Linked DNA regions of Homo sapiens: region 2 is linked to region 1. Evidence: promoter capture Hi-C in 16 types of primary human blood cells and fetal thymus (Javierre and others, 2016). All regions are on one chromosome and are shown on one strand. The core of a region is centred on a gene start or on the middle of the fragment in contact, and the rest is flanking DNA. Distances in the headings are between cores, read along the strand shown.

Region 1 (3,850 bases), core at 978-3,477:
AGCAGAAGTTCTAAATTGACTGCTTGTTTTCAAATTCTCTACAGATGTATGCAGAATCAGACACCAAGATGCGTTTATTGACATGCAATGTACTTTCAAATTTTTCCAAACTTGAATTTCATATGACCTGATAAACTTCACTTTTCCTGCAAAAAGACAGGCACGTCCTTCAGCCTAAAAATCAAGAGTAGCGAATGAGGCTTGCAGATTACACCAGAAGGATAGAAATCGAAATATATATATTTATATTTATTATATATAAATATAAATTTTTATATATTTATTATATATAAACATAAATTTTTATATATTTATTATATATAAACATAAATTTTTATATATTTATTATATATAAACAAATTTTTATATATTTATTATATATAAACATAAATTTTTATATATTTATTATATATAAACATAAATTTTTATATTTATTATATATAAACAAATTTTTATATTTATTATATATAAACATAATTTTTTATATATTTATTATATATAAACATAATTTTTTATATATTTATGATATATAAATATAATTTTTTATATATTTATGATATATAAATATAATTTTTTATATATTTATGATATATAAATATAATTTTTTATATATTTATGATATATAAATATAATTTTTTATATATTTATGATATATAAATATAAATTTTTATATATTTATGATATATAAATATAAATTTTTATATATTTATGATATATAAATATAAATTTTTATATATTTATGATATATAAATATAAATTTTTATATATTTATGATATATAAATATAAATTTTTATATATTTATGATATATAAATATAAATTTTTATATATTTATGATATATAAATATAAATTTTTATTTATGATATCTAAATATAAATTTTTATTTATGATATCTAAATATAAATTTTTATTTATGATATCTAAATATAAATTTTTATTTATGATATCTAAATATAAATTTTTATTTATGATATCTAAATATAAATTTTTATATATGATATCTAAATATAAATTTTTATATATGATATCTAAATATAAATTTTTATATATGATATCTAAATATAAATTTTTATATATGATATCTAAATATAAATTTTTATATATGATATCTAAATATAAATTTTTATATATGATATATAAATATAAATTTTTATATATGATATATAAATATAAATTTTTATATATTTATGATATATAAATATAAATTTTTATATATTTATGATATATAAATATAAATTTTTATATATTTATATTTATGATATATAAATATAAATTTTTATATATTTATATTTATGATATATAAATATAAATTTTTATATATTTATATTTATGATATATAAATATAAATTTTTATATATTTATATTTATACATATAATAAATATAAATATAAATTTTTATATATTTATATTTATACATATAATAAATATAAATATATATATTTCGATTTATATCCTTGCTTAAATATATAAATATATATTTTATAAATATATAAATATATTTATATAATATAACATATATTTATATAAATTATATAAATTTATATATTTTTTAATATTTTATATTTAAATTTATATATATTTATATAAATATATATAAATTTATATTTATTTACATATTTAAGCTAGGAACTACTATTTTGTTTTAATTGCGTACATTTTGCTTGGAAATCACAGGAAGAAACACAACAAAGCATTGCCCAAGGTACAGAAACAATAATAAACGTACTTAAAACTCATTTAAATTCCAGCATTTTTCTCCTTATTTTAGAAGTTTAACATTTCAGAAGCAGACACTGCCTCCCTTCCTGCAACAACTTTCTCCTCTTAAGTCTCATTTTTCCCCAGTTTCAAGGGCGAATTCTAGAACTCCCCGGAACCGCCACCAGTTAACCAGAATTCCGTGGCTTTGGAAAATAAAACTGCTGTTATAGCTCTTCTGGGTATTTGAGAAATGCACTTGTGAAGGGTTAGAGTTGAATCTTTTGATGCGAAAGTCGGGTTTTCCTGATACTGGGATTCCGGGATTCCAGGTGTTGGGGTGGCCCAATTCCTGCGAGAAGCAATAGCGGGCGGTAACATGAGGAGCACGGTGCGTCCAGCGAGTCCTTCCGCCTGGGGCCCTGCCGACCCCCTGCCTGCGCCCCCAGGACTCTGGCCTCACCCGGCCGTGCCGGGGCCTCTGTGACGCGGCGTTCCAGGCACTCGGCCCCGGCCGAGCCCGTAGCTAGAGCGGCTCAGAGACAGGAGGCGGCGGCAGCAGCGGCGGCATGAACCACTGCCAGCTACCGGTGGTGATCGACAACGGCTCGGGAATGATCAAGGCGGGCGTGGCTGGGTGCCGGGAGCCCCAGTTTATCTACCCGAACATTATCGGCCGCGCCAAGGGCCAGAGCCGCGCGGCCCAGGGCGGGCTAGAACTCTGCGTGGGCGACCAAGCTCAGGACTGGAGGAGCTCGCTGTTCATCAGGTACCTCCTTCTCCCAGCAGGCTGCTGGGGCTGGGGAGGGTGGGTGGGGTGGGGGTGGGGTAGGGTGGGGCTGGGGAGGTTGGGGGGTGGGGCTGGGGTGGCTGGGGGTGGGGGGACTGGGGGTGTTGTCGGGGGGCAGGAAAGGACCCCAAAGGAGGTGCGCAATGGGGACAGAAAGAATAAGAAAGCCGGGAGCTGGAAAGCCCCATCCAGCTGGAATTACTACAAACGCACGGGCCACAAATCTCCAAGGGTACCACACATCTAAAAACTGAACATTTTGCTCTCTGTGGCTATACAAATGTATTAAAACGTATAAAGTTATCGAACGAATTCATTTAAGAATATTAACTCATGGTCCCTTTTGTCACTTGGGTTATTCTCTTCAATTGACATTTAAACTATACTATAATGTGGACATTTCCCAATTTTTTAAAAGTCACAAGGTTCCAAAGGACAGAGAAAATGGAAAGCAACAAAAATCGCAGAGGTAGGCCGGGCGCGGTGGCTCACGCCTGTAATCCTAGCACTTTGGGAGGCCGAGCAGGGCGGATCACGAGGTCAGGAGTTCGAGACCATCGTGGCTAACACGGTGAAACCCCGTCTCTACTAAAAATACAAAAAAATTAGCCGGGCGTGGTGGCGCGCGCCTGTAGTCCCAGCTACTCAGGAGACTGAGGCAGGAGAATGGCGTGAACCCGGGAGGCGGAGCTTGCAGTGAGCTGAGATCGCGCCACTGCACTCCAGCCTGGGTGACAGAGCGAGACTCTGTCTCCAAAAAAAAAAAAAAAAATTGCAGAGGTAAGTAGCTGTGCTATTTTTGGCTGACACTTACCTGCTGTGAGAGGCTGTGGCAGTTATTGCCCATAAAGGGATATTGGTAATAAACGCGGGGAATTAACTGAGGGTCGAAGACAATAGAAACTAGAAAAATAAAAAGCTGTCATTGATCTTATTGCTTTCCTTACAGTTACCCAGTGGAGCGTGGTCTCATTACTTCATGGGAGGACATGGAGATCATGTGGAAGCATATCTATGACTATAACCTAAAGCTGAAGCCGTGTGATGGCCCAGTCTTGATTACTGAGCCAGCGCTGAACCCACTGGCCAACCGGCAACAGATCACGGAAATGTTTTTTGAGCATCTGGGTGTTCCTGCCTTCTATATGTCCATCCAGGCTGTGCTGGCTCTCTTTGCTGCTGGCTTCACTACTGGCCTTGTGCTGAATTCAGGTGCTGGGGTTACCCAGAGTGTGCCCATCTTTGAGGGTTACTGTCTGCCTCATGGTGTGCAGCAACTGGATCTGGCAGGCCTTGACCTCACCAACTACCTCATGGTGCTAATGAAGAACCATGGTATCATGTTGCTCAGTGCTTCAGACA
Region 2 (3,850 bases), core at 831-3,330, 1.5 Mb before region 1:
TCTGTTCCTGCTGTTCTCTGCTGTCTGTATCTGCTGTTCTTCCCAGACCACAGGCAGGTTCCAACATGTGCTTTAATTTAGTCTCATCTCTCATAGGATGTTGCCCACCTTTAACCTGTCTGGTAGTTGATGTGTGTACATGATACCTTTTGTTGGGTTATTCTGGTTTTCCTTCTGCTGTTTAGATGAGAGCTTCAGTCATTCTTTGGTCACTCAAACACTTTCAGACATAATAACACACTAGGCTTGTGACCATTTGGTATTTGGGGTCTTTGAATAATGTACACTGTATTTTGACAGTGGTCTGGGACACCATCAATTGATAATTGTTGCAGCAGAGGATTGCAAGATAAAAACAAATCTCTGTCATGAAAGTCAGAAATCCCAAATGTAGAATAATAATGGAAGTTTGTAGCATTTTTAGAGCACTATATGGTTTACAAAACTTTCACATTAGCTATTTTAGTTCTTATAACGGCCTTAAGTATCATTTCTCTGATTTTAGTGTGGAAACTGAGATCTAAAGAGATCTGAATGATTTCCTCATGGTCACACAGCCAGTGAGTGACAGAACTGAAGGTATCTGACCACAGGGCCTGTGTTGTTCCCACCTCCCACAGCTGAAGGAGTTGGAGTTCCTACTTTTCTCTGAGCTAGCTGCATGGCTTTAGAGAAGTAGGATGGAAGGGGTTAATATCAGTGGACATGAATGTCTCTAATATTCTTCATTTCTAATTTTTTAAGTCTATCAGGTTTGGACACGAAATTTTTAAAGGGCATGATTTAGATTTCTAGGAATCCCTGTTTCTGAATATTTTGGGGGACTAGGGCTTAGGTTACATCTTGGAATTTTTAAGGTACTGGAGCTATTTAACCCAAATCTCACTACCACAAAGAAGCTGTCCATCCATCAACACCATTTTCCCAGGCAAACAAGACTGGGTCAGTCTCTCCAAGGCCTGTCCCATGAAAATTAGAGGGTGCTGGCATTACCAGAAAGCAAAGCTTCCATCCAGGTATGGATGAGCTACTTCTGAGAAGGGAGTAATCAGTATGGACTGAAGTAAATGGGAATTCTTCCTGAACATGTGCCATCAAGCTATAGAGCAGAAGTTGGGTGAAATTTGAAAGGCGGAGTAACAAAGGCAGAAGCATGCAGGCATCGCTAAGAGCTTGGCCTTACCAGCTGGCTGACTTTGGGACTGTGCTTTGCTCTCTTCATTAGTATAATGGGGGTGGTAGTAGCACCTACTTCACATGGGCAATGTGGGGATTAAATAGTAATCATGTAAAACCTTAGCCTGACAAGTTGATATACAGTAAAAGCAAACTATTAGTTACTAGCTCAGTAAGAAACCAGGATAGCTAGGAACAGTTAGGGAGTCTAGGTAGGTTGGGTTGGGTGGGTTGGATTGGTTCCAACTGACAGGGAAAGACGCTACTTGCCTCAAGAGTGGATGAAATAAATAGCTATGGAATAACTGTATATGCTTTCCTGCAGGCTCCTCACTTAATATATATCGTACAAGACAGTAATAGCTAATATCATAGGCAGCAAATTTGACATTTGTTCATTTGTCTTTTTGTAATGAATTATTTGAGGTGAATTATGCTGATGTGTACCACCATCATTCCATTTGAATATGTGTCTTAATGTATAATGTCCTAAGGGCTGCCCAGGACTGGTGAGCAGTAACTCACTGCAGGAGGCCCCTAATTTGCCATTTCCACACCACTGCCCCATCCCTCCAGCCCCCTTAAGTTGGCAGCAGGCCACTCTGTCTTGTCTAGTAATGGTGATGGAGAGCCTGAGTGATTCTTAATCAAAGAAAATGACAACTCCATTTACATTTGTACAGATCTGATATTCACATTTGGATGTATGCCTAAAGGTACCTGGGTTGAAAATATGTGGTGTAACATTGCTTTATCTTCCTAAATCATCCTGACACAGCCTTGGACTTAATAGGGAGTGGGACCCAGAATTATGAAATAATAGCAGACATGCCACTGGAGGCTGAAATTTATGTTTTATGAGATAAAGTGGTTCTTAACTATTTTTGTTGCCATGTTCAATAGCTAGTTACTTTTAATGTTTCTATAATAAGAAAACAGTATGCAAAGATACACTTTAACAGAATTTCATAAGCTCCTACACTATGGGTAATAACCAGAGTTCTGAAAATAAAACCGTTACTTTCACTTGCATTTTAAGTCAGATTGATAGCTTTCTTTCATTTATAACGTCGTCCTAGTCTGAAAGCAAAATCACCATTTTATTATTTCTTATTCAAAGGCTGAAAGAAAAAGGTACCAAGTAAAATGATTTTGTATGACAAGGTCAATAAGACTTGGCAGCAAAGACTTGGATTGAAACTTTAGCCTTGCCATTAACCAGCTGTGATGTTGAATAAGTCATCTAGTCCTTGTCTCACTTGTAAAATGGTATAATATTGATACTATAGTTATATTGCTATTACCTGGAATGACACCCCACTCTTATTATTCACAACCTGGACTTTTTATGACCCAGGTCTGTTTTGCTTTTAAAATCTTAAATGTACAGCATCCCAATCTTAGACCACAGCCTTTGATGCTTCCAGCCTGTACTCCCTCACACCCTACACACCTGTTCTTTGATGTTGACTAAGCCCTCGGGTCTTTTGTCAGTCTCTCAGTCCCCATGAAACTTTAATAACTTGTCTCTCCAGCCTTGGGCCTCATGATTTCTTAGTTTAATCATTTTTAGCCAACATGTACTATCTCCTTTATCCTTTGTTCTTCCATAATATCCACCTTGCAGACCCCTTCCCTAAGGTCAGTCTAGCTGTTTATTTTTCTGCATTTGGGCTGCACAGCTCAACTCAGCACTGCTTAATAATCAACTGTGTATGTACCTGCTCAGTTCCTTCTCCTGTTTTCCCTGGAATAGTTGCTCCCAATCTCCACCACTCTCCTCTCCTCCCTTCCGCTGCCCCTGCCTTCATTGTTCTCCACAGGTGACCTTCTTCTATGCCTTTTAGAAAAACTGGAGCCATTGGACAGGTATCCCTTATTGGGTAAATATCCCACAGGTCTCCCTCTGCCTTTCTTCTCAAACTCATCTTCTTCCCACATTCTTACCTTCTTTCATCCTAACTCAATGTAAAGCTTTTCCCTCTGTGTGAGAGGACTCCTCCTGCTGTTTCTGTTGTCTCCTCCCTTGCCCAGAATTGCCCCTTTCCTCCCAGCCTGCAGTCATCTTCAGCGAGACCTCAGGACTAGTTTCATCTCTTTTCAGACCAAGCAACTTTTTTCTACCCTCTTTGCCTCCACATAGTCACCTCCCATTTTTTCCTTCACTCTATACAAACTGATGTCTGTCCCTGCATTGCTGTGTAAGGTCCCAGGGGCTTCATAATTGCCAGATTGAATGAGCTCTTTTTAGTCTTTATTTCACTTGGTCTTCTGTAGCACTGGCTCTGACCATACCCTCCTTTTTGAAACTCATCACATCCTCCTTCCTGAAACTTTCTCTTTCCTTGATTTGCAGTCATATTGCTGCTTTCTTTTTTCCCACCCGCTGGTTGTTTTTTCTTGGGGTTCATTGCAAGTCCTTCTGTCTCTGTAGACTGACTTGACCTCCTGAAGCCCAGTCTTCTCCACTGGACTAATGGACACATCTGTCTGGATGTCTACCCGGCCCCCGAAAACCTTGTTATGTCCTTGACTGAAGTCACTTCCTGCCTTCTTCATGTTTTCCCGAGTCTTCTGTCTCAAAGAATGGCACTCTTACCCACCTAGATTGTACAAGCCAGAGATGTTATCTTCCTGGAGGACTTCTGTTTCTCTTTCAATTCTCCAAAACACC

The links. The method cuts DNA at HindIII sites, captures the fragments that hold promoters and counts their contacts. A CHiCAGO score of 5 or more calls a contact.
Region 2: a contact is called between a fragment that was not itself captured here and the fragment with the promoter of ACTRT3 in region 1, in 1 of 17 cell types (total CD4 T cells). The highest score is 5.4, in total CD4 T cells.

What each region holds. Positions count from the first base shown.
Region 1 is chr3:169,767,938-169,771,787 of GRCh38, reverse strand. It overlaps ACTRT3 (actin related protein T3), which reads left to right and starts at 2,227. Exons shown (of 2, transcript NM_032487.5): 1 at 2,227-2,467; 2 at 3,438-3,850. The coding sequence starts at 2,268. RefSeq lists cis regulatory regions at 2,075, 3,432, enhancers at 2,003-2,147, 2,239-2,498, 3,360-3,504 and a silencer at 2,089-2,158. The HindIII fragment of the contact is 4,942 bases long and covers 1-3,850 here.
Region 2 is chr3:171,247,372-171,251,221 of GRCh38, reverse strand. The region is part of intron 2 of TNIK (TRAF2 and NCK interacting kinase); the gene reads left to right. Among named protein-coding and RNA genes, the nearest start is that of MIR569, 140 kb to the right of the region's middle. RefSeq lists an enhancer at 44-123. The HindIII fragment of the contact is 2,145 bases long and covers 1,008-3,152 here.